Linked DNA regions of Homo sapiens: all the other regions are linked to region 5. Evidence: promoter capture Hi-C in 16 types of primary human blood cells and fetal thymus (Javierre and others, 2016). All regions are on one chromosome and are shown on one strand. The core of a region is centred on a gene start or on the middle of the fragment in contact, and the rest is flanking DNA. Distances in the headings are between cores, read along the strand shown.

What was found. The method cuts DNA at HindIII sites, captures the fragments that hold promoters and counts their contacts. A CHiCAGO score of 5 or more calls a contact.
Region 1: a fragment that was not itself captured here is called in contact with the fragment with the promoter of PGAM2 in region 5 in 2 of 17 cell types (monocytes and non-activated CD4 T cells); the score reaches 6.8 in monocytes.
Region 2: a contact is called between the fragment with the promoter of CCM2 here and the fragment with the promoter of PGAM2 in region 5, in 1 of 17 cell types (neutrophils). The highest score is 6.6, in neutrophils.
Region 3: a fragment that was not itself captured here is called in contact with the fragment with the promoter of PGAM2 in region 5 in 2 of 17 cell types (non-activated CD4 T cells and M1 macrophages); the score reaches 5.7 in non-activated CD4 T cells.
Region 4: a fragment that was not itself captured here is called in contact with the fragment with the promoter of PGAM2 in region 5 in 1 of 17 cell types (M0 macrophages); the score reaches 5.7 in M0 macrophages.

Annotation. Positions count from the first base shown.
Region 1 is chr7:44,965,328-44,968,027 of GRCh38, reverse strand. MYO1G (myosin IG) reads left to right here. Exons shown (of 22, transcript NM_033054.3): 13 at 70-144; 14 at 291-423; 15 at 1,190-1,356; 16 at 1,748-1,955; 17 at 2,168-2,391. Among named protein-coding and RNA genes, the nearest start is that of MYO1G, 12 kb to the left of the region's middle. RefSeq lists an enhancer at 1,871-1,970. The HindIII fragment of the contact is 1,209 bases long and covers 796-2,004 here.
Region 2 is chr7:44,998,798-45,001,497 of GRCh38, reverse strand. CCM2 (CCM2 scaffold protein) reads right to left here and starts at 1,297. Exons shown (of 10, transcript NM_031443.4): 1 at 1,135-1,297. The coding sequence starts at 1,164. It overlaps LOC102723334 (a long non-coding RNA gene), which reads left to right and starts at 1,490. Exons shown (of 4, transcript XR_428139.4): 1 at 1,490-1,780; 2 at 2,125-2,218. RefSeq lists silencers at 821-1,350, 1,981-2,030. The HindIII fragment of the contact is 6,187 bases long and covers 1-2,700 here.
Region 3 is chr7:44,584,038-44,586,737 of GRCh38, reverse strand. No RefSeq gene overlaps it. Among named protein-coding and RNA genes, the nearest start is that of TMED4, 3.2 kb to the right of the region's middle. The HindIII fragment of the contact is 1,147 bases long and covers 716-1,862 here.
Region 4 is chr7:44,768,731-44,771,430 of GRCh38, reverse strand. It overlaps ZMIZ2 (zinc finger MIZ-type containing 2), which reads right to left. Exons shown (of 19, transcript NM_031449.4): 19 at 1,550-2,700. Among named protein-coding and RNA genes, the nearest start is that of ZMIZ2, 21 kb to the right of the region's middle. The HindIII fragment of the contact is 2,420 bases long and covers 231-2,650 here.
Region 5 is chr7:44,064,297-44,066,996 of GRCh38, reverse strand. It overlaps PGAM2 (phosphoglycerate mutase 2), which reads left to right and starts at 1,430. Exons shown (of 3, transcript NM_000290.4): 1 at 1,430-1,881; 2 at 1,985-2,165. The coding sequence starts at 1,468. It overlaps DBNL (drebrin like), which reads right to left. Exons shown (of 13, transcript NM_001014436.3): 13 at 1-2,700. RefSeq lists a silencer at 414-483 and enhancers at 1,664-1,733, 1,794-1,843, 2,034-2,093. The HindIII fragment of the contact is 4,752 bases long and covers 1-2,700 here.

The DNA.
Region 1 (2,700 bases), core at 151-2,650, 900 kb before region 5:
CTGGGGTCATTAGCACTCTGGCCTGGCAGCCCCCGCCCCTGCTCCCTCACCAGCCCTGGCTTCTGGTAGGTACTCCGTGGAAGGCTTCATCGACAAGAACAGAGATTTCCTCTTCCAGGACTTCAAGCGGCTGCTGTACAACAGGTGAGCACGGCTTGCTGGGCACCATAGGGAGGGCCAGGGCCCTGGGGCCCCAGAGACTCTGGGGTCAGGCATTGACTAGCGTCAGGACGTGGGTGGGTGGGGCTGCTCTCCCAGAGGATGGCTGGGAATTCGGCCTGTGTCTGCAGCACGGACCCCACTCTACGGGCCATGTGGCCGGACGGGCAGCAGGACATCACAGAGGTGACCAAGCGCCCCCTGACGGCTGGCACACTCTTCAAGAACTCCATGGTGGCCCTGGTGGAGAACCTTGCCTCCAAGGTATGTTCCACCCCTCTCCCACTCTGGCTGTTCCGGATCCTTCTCTCTGTGCCCTCGGTGCCAAGTAGGGTCCCAACCACCTCTGTACATCATAGTGGTGGGGAGAGGGTTCTTGTCCTGTCTGTATGAGCCACATCTGCTCCAGCAGTGGACCCCACCCACTGCACAGGTGAGATGTGGGGCCTCAGGGGCTGGGCTGAGGCTTGATCAATCATGGGGAACCCAGGCTTCTCCTCGCCCCATTGTCTCTTGAACAGGGAGGGGTTTGGGGAGACCCTGCTGAGAGGCTGGCTTGGCCCAGCCCAGCTCTTGGCAAAAACCCAGGATTCTTCTGGCAGGTGGGGCCAGAGAGACAGGAAACTGGCACAAGCTTTCTTGGGGAGCTTTGGGTCAAAAGTCAGAAGAGGAACAGGTGAAGGGTCAGGGAGAGGACATGTTAGGGTGAGCTTAACTACAGAACATCCAGAGATGTCAGCCCCTTTTGGAAGGAGAGAAGGAAGGCAGATGGGGCGAGGCCTGCTCCTGCCCCTGCCACGCCCACCTCCCCACCCCCCGACCAGGGGCTGGAACCTGGCTCTGAACCTGGCCTTGCTGGCCTCTGCCCAGCACTTAGGGCTTCCAGGGCCCTTGTTCTGCTGATTTCCCTTCTTTGTTCCCAACTCTTCTCCTGGCCTGGGACCTTGAGGGGTTAGGAAGCCCCTGGTGTGGGGCAGGGTGCACAGTGCTGCTGGCGCAGACCCTCTCCAAGTCCCCTCTGTCCCTGCAGGAGCCCTTCTACGTCCGCTGCATCAAGCCCAATGAGGACAAGGTAGCTGGGAAGCTGGATGAGAACCACTGTCGCCACCAGGTCGCATACCTGGGGCTGCTGGAGAATGTGAGGGTCCGCAGGGCTGGCTTCGCTTCCCGCCAGCCCTACTCTCGATTCCTGCTCAGGTACTGGCACCTGACACCCATCACTCCATGGGCCATAGTCCCTGTGTGGAGTCCAAGGGGTAGGAGCAGAGGGTCCCCAAACAGCACGTCGCAAACATCGATACAAGCAGGAACCAGCACGCTGCTGGCCTCAAGACACCAAAATATCTGGGAAGACATGTGTGTGAGCACATGCATGTGGGGACATACAGGTGGGAACATGGGTATGAGGGCTGTGTGAGGACATGTATGTGAGGACATGTGTATGGGAAGACATATGTGCACAGGTGTCATAAGTGCTCCAGGAACACACTCTGTATCCCTGCCATCTCCCCAGGTGTGGGGTGGGCAGGGTGGGCTCCATCATCTCTCCCCCAGGCCTGGGCCACACTGCCCTGTCCTGTGGTGACAGGTACAAGATGACCTGTGAATACACATGGCCCAACCACCTGCTGGGCTCCGACAAGGCAGCCGTGAGCGCTCTCCTGGAGCAGCACGGGCTGCAGGGGGACGTGGCCTTTGGCCACAGCAAGCTGTTCATCCGCTCACCCCGGACACTGGTCACACTGGAGCAGAGCCGAGCCCGCCTCATCCCCATCATTGTGCTGCTATTGCAGAAGGTGAGGTGGGCGGGGCAGGAAGACATCCACTATGGAGGTGGGGAAAGCTTGTGTCCCAGGGGCCACAAACACACTTGTAAGTTTCACAGGAGTCTCTGCTTGATGGAGACAGGCCAGGGAGTGCTCAATAAATGCTCAGGGCCAGGTTTGGGTCTAAGGGTTAGGGCCTGATTGAATTTGACTGCGTATCCCATCCCACCTGGCCCACCCAGGCATGGCGGGGCACCTTGGCGAGGTGGCGCTGCCGGAGGCTGAGGGCTATCTACACCATCATGCGCTGGTTCCGGAGACACAAGGTGCGGGCTCACCTGGCTGAGCTGCAGCGGCGATTCCAGGCTGCAAGGCAGCCGCCACTCTACGGGCGTGACCTTGTGTGGCCGCTGCCCCCTGCTGTGCTGCAGCCCTTCCAGGACACCTGCCACGCACTCTTCTGCAGGTACTACTCTCAGCCCACCACACATTCCATTCAGCTGGCATCCACTGAATACCTTAACCCATCATCCCGGGCCTGCAGTGCCTGGATGGGAGATACACCAGCCCCCTTGATAGGTGGGAAGGTGGATGCTATGCCACATTAGCTGACTGCTCATGTCCCACAGTTGGTGCAGAGCCCTGACCATCTTGGGTACTGTGGTGGGCATTCAAGGTCCAGGGCTGCAGCCTGCAGGGGGAGGCCCATTAGGGCTGGGAAGTAAGGGGATTCTGCATCTGAGCGGGGTCTTGAGGGCTGAGTAGGAGTTCTCCA
Region 2 (2,700 bases), core at 48-2,547, 930 kb before region 5:
CCTTTCCAGCTAACTCCTTTTACACTGCTTGGCTCCTCCCTCTTCTGTGCGCAGCACGCATCTCTAATCTAACACCTGCAGGCTGAATCACTATCTTGAGCTATTTTCCAGACTTAAAACATCTTTGTAGATAACCGCAAATTATACTGCACCTAAATTAGACATGCATGGTGCTAACATGAAACAATGAGTTGAGAAAGTAGAGAACCAGCACCACAGGACTCCCTGAAGGCCACCTGGCTACATTCTATTTCAAACAGGACTTTTAAATGGGGCACTCTGTCAAACAAGGTGGTGAGTAGCTGTCAATTAAAGGACACTTCCCTGCAGAGTTCAGGGTAGTAAAATCATAGTTAGGAATTATCGAGGTCTGCTTTAAACTTGTGGATAAAAGTGCGCACACACACATCAAAAAGAAAATGATAGCCAAGACGTGAAGATTATAAAGCATTTATTTGAAAAAGATACATTTTATTAAAATCCATTTTCCACTTTAATGGTAGTTCAATCCACATCGTTTTTCCAGTCTTAAAATGTTTCTTTATCGACTACTATAACCCTTTACTGTAATTAAAGCCACATTTTGTAAAACTACATAAACTGGGGTTTGACTATGAACTATGTCCTAAATCCCACTGCCAAATGTAGCTAGCGTCACTAAAATCAATCAATGGTTTTAGGTCTGAGTGATAGTGGACGAGTGAGCTGGCCATAAGGTGAAGGCCACCCTTGCTTTTACTGGATATCCAAAAACGAAGTCCAGTGAGCAGCAAACGTCTCCACGTTAACCACACAGCCCACTAGCTCCAGTTCCAGCCCTGGACAGCTTTCTGGCCCCTCGCCGGGCCCACTTCCTCTGCAGCCCCAGGTCCCGACGCGCAGGGAAGGCCGTCTGGGGCCGAGGTCGGGGCGAGCCGCTGCCCGGGCCAGAGGAAAGGCGCGGCGCTTCCTGCCCGCCCGGCCGCGAAAGCCCACCTGACCATTGTCCGGGGTCTCGCCCTGCCCCGCCCCGCCCCGCCAGCTGGCCCACTGCCCCCCCCCCCGGGCCCCAAGGAACACCCGCCCACCCCACCCTGGCCCCTCAACCCAGCCGCCCGCCGACCACAGCAGTAGGACGCCCCCGCGCACGCTCACCTTCTTGCCCTTCTTGCCCTCCTCTTCCATATCGCCGCGTGCGGCTCCCGCGGCCCGCCCGGCCCGCCCCGGGAGCCCCGCCGCCAGCAGCCGCTACATGCTCGACCCGGGCCCGCCGCCCCCGCGCTCCCGGCGCCGCCCGCCAGCCGGGCCCGAAGTCTCCGCCCCGGCCGCGCCCCACACCCGCACTTCCGGGCCCGAGCCCCCTCCGCCCCGCCCAGGCCCCACCTTCCCCAGCGCAGGCCCCGCCCACGGTTGTCGCTCATCCTCACTTTCAGGCCCAAGGGAATCCGACCCGCAGCGATCAGACCCCGCCCCTTCAGGGAGAACACGGCCCGTTGGCCCCGCTCACGGCGAGAGCACCGCCCACAGGCTGAAGATCCTGCCCCTTCAGGACGGCCGAGAACGCGCCTGCCTTGCACCACCCCCACCCCGCCCCGCGTCCTTCAGGAGAGCCGGAAACGCTCCTACCCCTACTTCGCTTCTGCACGGCCGCGAGAACGCACCTGTCCAGCCCCCTGTTCGCTCCGCCCACTCAGCGCGCGCGGGAGCGCGCGCGGGAGCAGCTCCAACTTTTTCAATTTGCCGCCATCTTTACGGCGGCCGACTTCCCAGCCTGCCTCGCGTCCAGGGAGGCGGAGCTCAGGTCTCTGAAAAGGGGACGGGGGGCGGGGGACGGGGGACGGGGGCCGGCGGGAGGGGACGCGGCCGGCAGATGGCGAAGGAGGGGCGCGAGGAGGCGGCCACTGTTGAGGGGCGGGGCGTCCCGCCGAGAGTCTGGGTGCGGTGCGGTTTTCTTTTTTCTTGTGTCCCACTTTATTCCCTGAGCCACAGGGAATCCGTTTTCTAGTACTTCTCTGTTATAAAGTCTGCCTGCCTTAGACAAACACATTTGGAAAATAGAAGTGCAACCACAAGGATGTGCAGACCCTATCAGAATAAAATCGTAGAACCTTACCAGTCATCCGGTATAATTTCCACATTTTCCAGATGAGGTCCGGGGAATGAGGTGATTCGCCCAAAAGCACACTACAAATTGGAGTCACCAGCAGGTCTGCTATTTTGCCACTAAACCAATCTGCCGGTAAGAACTTTGTAGCACAGCTAGAATGTAAACTGTGTTTTTTTGGTGGTTTTTTTTTTTTTTTGAGACGGAGCCTTGCTCTGTCGCCCAGGCTGGAGTGCCAGTGGCGTGGATCTCGGCTCACTGCAAGCTCTGCCTCGCGGGTTCACGCCGTTCTCCTGCCTCAGCCTCCCGAGTAGCTGGGACTACAGGCGCCAGCCACCACACCTGGCTAATTTTTGTATTTTTAGTAGAGACGGGGTTTCACCATGGTCTGGATCTCCTGACCTGGTGATCCGCCCACCTCGGCCTCCCAAAGTGCTGGGATTACAGGCGTGAGCCACCGCGCCCGGCCTAATAATTCTTTATATTAAACTTTTCTTTACTGTGTTTCTGTCTCCTGACTGGGCCTATGTTATACTGATATTCAAAAGAAATACTTGGTCTCTAGACCTCTCCAAAGGCATAAGTATTCCATTCTCTGCAAGATAAAGCAGAGATAG
Region 3 (2,700 bases), core at 40-2,539, 520 kb before region 5:
GGGAATTAGACTCCCTAAGTTAAATTTTCTTTCTTTTTTGGAGATGGGGTCTCACTCTGTTGCCCAGGCTGGAGTGCAGCAGCACCATCACAGCTCACTGCAGCCTCAACCTCCTGGGGGTCAAGCAATCCTCCCACCTCAGCCTCCCGAGTAGTTGGGACTACAGGCCCATGCCACCATGCCCAGCTAATTTTTTTTTTGGTAGAGACAGGGTGTCACCATGTAGCCCAGACTGGTCTTGAACTTCTGGACTCAAGCGATCTTCCTGCCTCGGCCTCCCAAATGCTGGGATTACAGGCATGAGCCACAGTGCCTCACCTCCTAAGTTAAATTTTCTGCAGTGGAGAATACAATCTCTTTAATATTATCTCTCAGTTAAGACAAATTTCAGGATCCTCCTTAAAAAAAAAAAAAAAAAGAAAGAAAATAAGTTTGCCAATACAAATACCATTTCTCACTAAAGTGAATTAGGGTTCCTTGGAGAAATGGTTGGTTTTGTTTCTGGGCAGTAAATGTATAAAACGGAAAGCAAGGAAGTCCAGGGTGTCCAATCTTTTGGCTTTCCTGGGCCACACTGGAAGAAGAAGAATTGTCTTGGGCCACACATAAAATACACTAACAATAGCTGATGAGCTAAAAAAAAAAAAATCTCATAATGTTTTTAGAAAGTTTATGAATTTGTGTTGGGCTGCATGGGCCACAGGTTGGACAAGCTTGACCTAAAGACTACTAGGATTGTGGATTACTAGGATTGTGCCAGAAGGACACAGCAGCAACTAAATATTTGATGAGACAATCTGAACATTTAAAAAAGGACAATGACTGTAATGGATTAAAGCACATCAAATATCTAAACATCCATCAATTCATGATAGCACTGCCCCTTCTCCCCAAAGAACCCAAAGTGGTCACAGTTAGAGGTTGCTGGGGCATCCATCCATCCATCTTTATTATTATTACTATTATTTGAGACAAGGTCTCACTCAGTCACCCATGCTAGAGTGCTGTCGTCCCATCACGGCTCACTGTATCCTCAACCTCCTGGGCTCCAGCCATTTCCCTGCCTCAGCCTCCTAAGTAGCGGGAATTACAGGCATGCATCACCATGCCTGTCTAATTTTTACATATTTTGTAAAGATCTTGCCATTTCCTGGGCTCAAGCAGTCCTCCTGTCTTGGCCCCCCAAAGTGCTGGGATTATAGGCAGAGCCACTGTGCGTGGGAAAGCATCAAGCATACATCCTGGCTATCCCGAATGGATTGTATTTCAAAGTAACCAGAGAGATGAGGGAATGCTCACCTTTGTAGAAGAATCTCATCTTATAAATGCAGGAGAAATGAGAGCATTTGAAATTACCACTTTGCACACCTAAGGAACATCATAAAACTACACTAGGGTTTCTCAACCTGGGTACTACTGACATTTTGAGCTGGATAATTCTTCGCTGTGGGGGGGAGGTGTGCTCTGTGAATTATACAATGTTTAGCAGTATTCCTTGCATTCATTTTCTAGATAACAGCAGTACCACCCGCCACCCCCCACCCAGTTGCAACAATCCAAAATATCTCCAGACATTGCCAAATTTCCCCTTGGTAGGACAGGGCAGAATCAACCCTCGTTGAGAACCAATGGTCTAATGATCATCAACGTTTGCTAGACTATTAGAAGAAAGGCTGATGGTAAACTTCATGGATAATCAGGATGACAACCCCCAAATTGAGAGATGAATTACAATATTACTAAGAGACAAACCCGCCTTGTGCCTCAGTAGAAGTACATAGTGCCAGCCACGAAGCGTTATTGCAAACAAAACAAAACAAAAAAACCCAAACCTCAACATTACACCTAAACCTAATGAAGCTTCTAGCCAGGGGCAAATCCAAGCTTTGTGGGGCCTTAAACTATACAAATTTCACAGTCCTCTTTAAGAAAAAGACACAAAATTATAAATGCGAAATTAGGTACGGGGGTCTATGCAAGGGAGGGCCTGAAGATTAAGCTTCATTAGTTTCACTGTAAACCTCCCCTGACTCTAGAATTAACTGTGATTACAGGACATACCAGGGACAAAAAACGTTAAATGACACCTGAAGATACAATCAGCAAAACCCAGAAAGTGGAAAATTCTGTTGGTCAAATGACCCAGTTTCTTCAATAAGTAAATGCCATGAATAACAAACAACAAAAAGAGAGGGGAAATTTATATATATAATATATATATAATATGTATAATATATATATATGTTGTTATATGGTTTGTTTTTTTTTTTTTGGACACGAGTCTCTCTCTCACCCAGGCTGGAGTGCAGTGGCATGATCTCGGCTCACTGCAACCTCTGCCTCCTGGGTTCAAGCGATTCTTCTGCCTCAGTCTCCCAAGTAGCTGGGACTACAGGTGAGCACCACCACACCCAGCTAATTTTTGTATTTTTGGTAGAGGTAGGGTTTCACCATATTGGCCAGGCTGGTCTCGAACTCCTGACCTCGTGATCTGCCCACCTTGGCCTCCCAAAGTGCTGGGATTACAGGTGTGAGCCACTGCGCCCGGCCCTGTTTTTGTTTGTTTTGAGATAGAATCTCACTCTGTTGCCTAGGCTGGAGTACAGTGGCATCATCTCAGCCCACTGCAACCTCCACCTCCCTGATTCTAGCAATTCTCCTGCCTCAGCCTCCCAAGTAGCTGAGATTACAGGTGTGCAC
Region 4 (2,700 bases), core at 191-2,690, 700 kb before region 5:
CAGTGGGTAGAGTTACAGGGGTCAGAAGTGGGGGCCACTGCCTGCTGGGGAAGGCCACTGGAGGAAGCTGGGGCAGAATGGGAGGGAAGCTGGCCCCTCACATGAATACGGGGAATTAGGAAGTGTTTTCTCCTCCACAATGTTTGGGAGAATTTGGGGATTTATGTCCATTCTTTAGCATTTGGTAGAATTCACCATCTGGTCCTGGGCTTTTCTTTTGTTGGGAAGCTTTTGATGACTGGTTCTACCTATGTGTTTTAGGTTGGTTCAGATTTTTTCCTTTTTCTTCTTTTTTTGAGGTCAGGTCTCTGTCTCTGCCTCATTCCTGGCTGGAGTGCAGTGGTGCTGTCATAGGTCGTTGCAGCTTTGAACTCCTGGGCTCTAGCTATCCTCCTGCTTCAGCCTCCCAAGTAGCTGGGGCTACAGGCACGTGCCATGACACCTGGTTGATTTCTAAAGATTTTGTCGAGGCAGGGTCTCTGTTGCCCAGGCTGGTCTCGAACTCCTGGCCTCAGGCCATCCTCCTAACTAGTTCTCCCCAAGTGCTGGGATCACAGGTGTGAGCCACTGCACCTGGCCCTGTTCAGATTTTCTATTTTTCCTGGGACAATTTTGGTCATTTGTATCTTTCTAGGAATTTTTTTGTTGTTGTTTTGAGACAGAGTCTCACTCTGTCACCCAAGCTGGAGTGCAATGGCATGATCTCAGCTCACTGCAACCTCTGCCTCCTGGGTTCAAGTGATTTTCCTGCCTCAGCCTCGTGAATAGCTGGGATTACAGGTGTGAGCCACCACGCCTGGCTAATTTTTGTGTTTTTAGTAGAGACAGGGTTTCACCACTTTGGCCAGGTTGGTCTCGAACTTCTGACCTCAGGTGATCTGCCTGCCTCGGCCTCCCAAAGTGCCGCGATTACAGGCGTGAGCCACCACACCCAGCCAAGATGTCGCATCTTTTTAAATGTTGGCATTTGCAGCTATAAATTTCCCTCAGAGCAGTTTTTGCCGCATTCCTTAAGTTCTGGTATGTTGTTTTCATCCATCTCTATTTCCTAATTTTTCTCGTGATTTCTCCTTTGACCCTTTGGCTGTTAAAAAGTGTGTTCAATTTCTATGTATGTGTGAATTTTCATTTTCCTTCTGGTATGGATTTCTGGTTTTATTCCATTGTGATTGGAGAAGGTGGTTTGCAGGATTCCGATCTCTAATTTACTGAGACTTGCTTTGTGCACTAACGTGTGGTCTGTCCTGGAGAACGTTCCCTGTGCACTTAGAAACGTGTGTTCTGCTGCTATTGGGTGGAGCACTGTTAAGTCTGGTCAGCCTTTTGGTTTTTATGTAATACTTGGCACATTCACAAGAAAATGTGTGAAACAGAAAGTACGACAAAGTGAAACCCACGAAGCCACCACTGACCCTGAGGTTCAAAACCTCCAGCATCTCTGCTCTTCCCTAAGCACAGCTCCGTCCCCTCCCCACGGGTGAGCACTGTGTTGTACTGACTCCCTGCCCTCCCTGATGACTTTAGCACCTGGGTATGAATTCCACACATATTTGGTTTTGAGCTTTATAAAAATGGCATCATACTGTATGAACTGTCTTGCTTTTTCATCCCACGTTGTTTCTGAGAGGTGTTTGTGATGGAGCACAGGGCCACGGTGCCCATGCATTCCTCAATCATTTCTCCAGTCTTCTGAGGATGGGCTTCTGGGTTGTTTGCAGCCTTTTGCTTGTCCCAGTCTCCTAGTTTCTCCACTCCATCCGGGAGCATCACGTTTGCAACAGGCAGGGCAGGTGGTGCATCAGATGTCCAGGACACAGTCATTTGACACCCAAGAAAGGAGGGCCTGGGGCCTGCATCAGGCCATGGCTGAGTGGGACTTTGCCAGGCTGTCTCCGCACCCAGCGACAGGACTGTGCGTGCTGCTGCTTCTTTTGTTTCCTCCACTTCTGTTCCCTCATCCAGAGAGGGCGGAAGAGCTGGAAACAGAGGCTTTGTCAGGGAATAAGGAAGCCCACCTGTGTGGTCCCAAATGTCGCAGGGGCAACGCTCACACCAGATACCTCCCTCCTCCTCCTCCCTGCAGCCTCTGGGCTCCCACAGACAGATGCCCTCCTCTAGTGCCTCCAGGGGCAGGCCTTGGCCGCCAGCCTGAGGATGCCCAGCGCTCCCCTCCTCCCCTAGGTTCCTGTGTTCCCCCAGTTCTTGCCTCTCCTGCTGGCTGGCTGGGAAGGCCCTCAAGGATGGGGCCCAGGACTGGAGGAAATGGTGACCCGGACCCCCACCAAGCTGGACAGGCAGATGGTAGGCAGGACACACCTCTGCAATCTCTGGGAAGTGACAAGCAGAGGCCTCCCAGGGACAAGAGCTGAGAAGGATGAGCCCCTGGCTGGGCTGGGGCTGCCAAACAACTGTCTCAGTGCCCCAGGGCAAGCCCAGATAAGGTGACATAGTGGCAAATGTCTCTCCTGGGCAAGCCTGGGATGCTTCACAAAACAGCTCTTCAGCTGAAGCCAACTTGGAAAATTCCAGGGAAAAGGAAATTTACTATGGGGCGGGAATAGCCGAGCCTTGGCTTGAAACATCCAGAGCTCAACCTGGGGCCCCAAAAGCCACTTGAAGGTCGACCTGGCCCCCAGGTCCTGCACAAGCTTTGCAGGCACAGCCCAAGCTTTAGGCAGGTCGCTGGCTTACGAGGAGAAA
Region 5 (2,700 bases), core at 181-2,680:
CACTGAAATATGGGCTTCATGTCTGGCCCCTGTGGGACTGCCAGAGCCTGGTCCTCAGTCATGTTTAGTTGGGCTAGTGAATCAACTCTTGGTCAAAGGGACAAAAGCAGATGAGGAGATGTGGCTTCAATCAGGATCAGTGTGGAACAGTGAGACCTGCGCATGGCACTGCTAGGAGGGATGGGTTCCACCTGCCAGCCTTGGGGGTCCTGGCAGCCGACAGGACTTTGCCCACTGGGACTTGTCTGCCAACCTTTGGGTACAGAGCCTTAGCTTCACAGGCCCCAAGCCAGGAGCCCCTCCCCAGGTAGGCCAGCAGGGATGGAGGGAGGCCTGTCGAGGGTTTCTTGCACACTCAGATCCAAGTCTCAGAGTGGTGGTCCCTCTGCTGGCCTCTCACCTACCCGCTCCTGTTATCAGAAGTGTCGCAGGTGACAGTGTGGTCACTGGGGTGGGAGGAAATGGGAGGCCCTGGATGGGGCCCATGCCCAAGGGTCTGGCCATGGCCCCTTCATTAGGGCCCCAATTGTGACTTTATTGCTCATAGTCTCTTCCCTGCCTTGGTGGCTCTCATCCCCCAAACCTGAATGCAGAAGTCTTGGTCCTAGACTCAACTCCGTGCCACCCTTCAGCCTACGTTGTGGGTTCCTGCTAAGCTGAGCATTTACCTAACAATCAAGACTTCTGACAGTCCTCAGTCCTGCCCCCAAACCCCCTTGGATTTCTCTTTTTCAAGGTGGTTTCGGCTAGGAGAGTGAGCGTGGCTTGGGTGAGGGCAGATAGGGTGGGAGCATGGGGCATGTATGGATGAGACCTTGACAAAGGGACCCCGGAGGAAAGACAGGGGCCCTTTCCCCCTTTGTCCTGGAAACCCGGCTCAGCCCCAGCCCTTGCCCATTCTGCTGCTGCTGCCTGGTACCTTCCACAAGGCCAGACTCCTCTCCACAAAGCTGTGGTCTGCACCAGCTCCTCTGGCTCTCCTCCTCTGCCTGCTGAGGGCCGCCTCCTAGCCTGGCTGCCAATCACAGGAGAAAGGGGTTGGGATTTTGTTTGTGCCTCTGTCTGAGCAGAGAATGGCTGATAGGCCACTGAGCGTTGCCCTGGAGAGCCCCTCTGTCCCTGCTATCCCCATCTCCCCTGGCCCAGACTTCTGCCCTTCACGCCCATCCCTGACCAGCAGCCCCACTCAGTCTGGGCTCTGGGTGCCAGCTGGTTATAGACATGCCACCTGAACCCAGGCCAGGAGCTGGTGGATGCGTGGGGCTATTTTAAGCACAGCCTCTTGGCCTGCACACTCCCCTGGCCCCCAGCCCCCAGCAGCTCAGCTACTGGTCACCTGCCACCGCCTGGAATGCTGATTGGCAGTTGGCTGGGGTGGGTGGGGGCTGGGAAGACACTATTATAAAGCTGGGAGTGTTGGGAAGCAGCCGTCCCCGTCCAGAGTCCTCTGTGGTCCCTGCTGCCACCATGGCCACTCACCGCCTCGTGATGGTCCGGCACGGCGAGAGCACATGGAACCAGGAGAACCGTTTCTGTGGCTGGTTCGATGCAGAGCTGAGTGAAAAGGGGACCGAGGAGGCCAAGCGGGGAGCCAAGGCCATCAAGGATGCCAAGATGGAGTTTGACATCTGCTACACGTCAGTGCTGAAGCGGGCCATCCGCACCCTCTGGGCCATCCTGGACGGCACGGACCAGATGTGGCTGCCTGTGGTGCGCACTTGGCGCCTCAATGAGCGGCATTACGGGGGCCTCACAGGCCTCAACAAGGCAGAAACGGCCGCCAAGCACGGGGAGGAGCAGGTGAAGATCTGGAGGCGCTCCTTCGACATCCCGCCGCCCCCGATGGACGAGAAGCACCCCTACTACAACTCCATTAGCAAGGTGGGCTGCCTTTGCTGGGAAGGCCTCTGGGAAGCTGCAGAGTGGGGAGTCGGGTGGGGGCCCACTGGCTTGGGAGGGAAAGCAGCGTGCCTGTGTCCCCCAGGAGCGTCGGTACGCAGGCCTGAAGCCCGGGGAACTCCCCACCTGCGAGAGCCTCAAGGACACCATTGCCCGGGCCCTGCCCTTCTGGAACGAGGAGATTGTTCCCCAGATCAAGGCCGGCAAGCGAGTGCTCATTGCAGCCCACGGGAACAGCCTGCGGGGCATTGTCAAGCACCTGGAAGGTGAGGCCACCTTCAGGAGCCTGGGCAGGGTGGGTGGGCAGCAGCCCCAGCTGGCTTCTCATCTCAGCAAAGTCTCTCGCCCATGGACCAGGCTTTCTAGGCGTGGGGCTCCACATCATTCACTGAAAAAGGAGGGCTGAGAAGCCATTTTTTAGTTTTGTGAAATTTTCCCCATTTCTGTGTAACTGGGACACACTCCACAGGGGCTGACTGCACTCGAAGCTCGCTGTGTCCCGAGGTGGGGCAGGCTCCAAAGGTGGCATCTGCCAAGGGACACCCAGCTAGGAAACGGAAGGGCTGGGCTTAGAGCATCTGGCTCCAAATCCCAACTTACTGTGGGGCCCTGGACAAGCCACCTCCATCTCTGGGCCTCTCCCTTTTCCGGGGTGGTGGGGAGCTCCCCCTGGTACTGAATTCCTCTTGATGTAGGCTTGGACCCCTCGCAGGGCCCTCCCCCATCAGGTCCTCAGAATCCCTGCATGAGCTTCACCACCTATCTCCCTCTGGAGCCCCTCTCTGGGCAAAGGAAAGACCA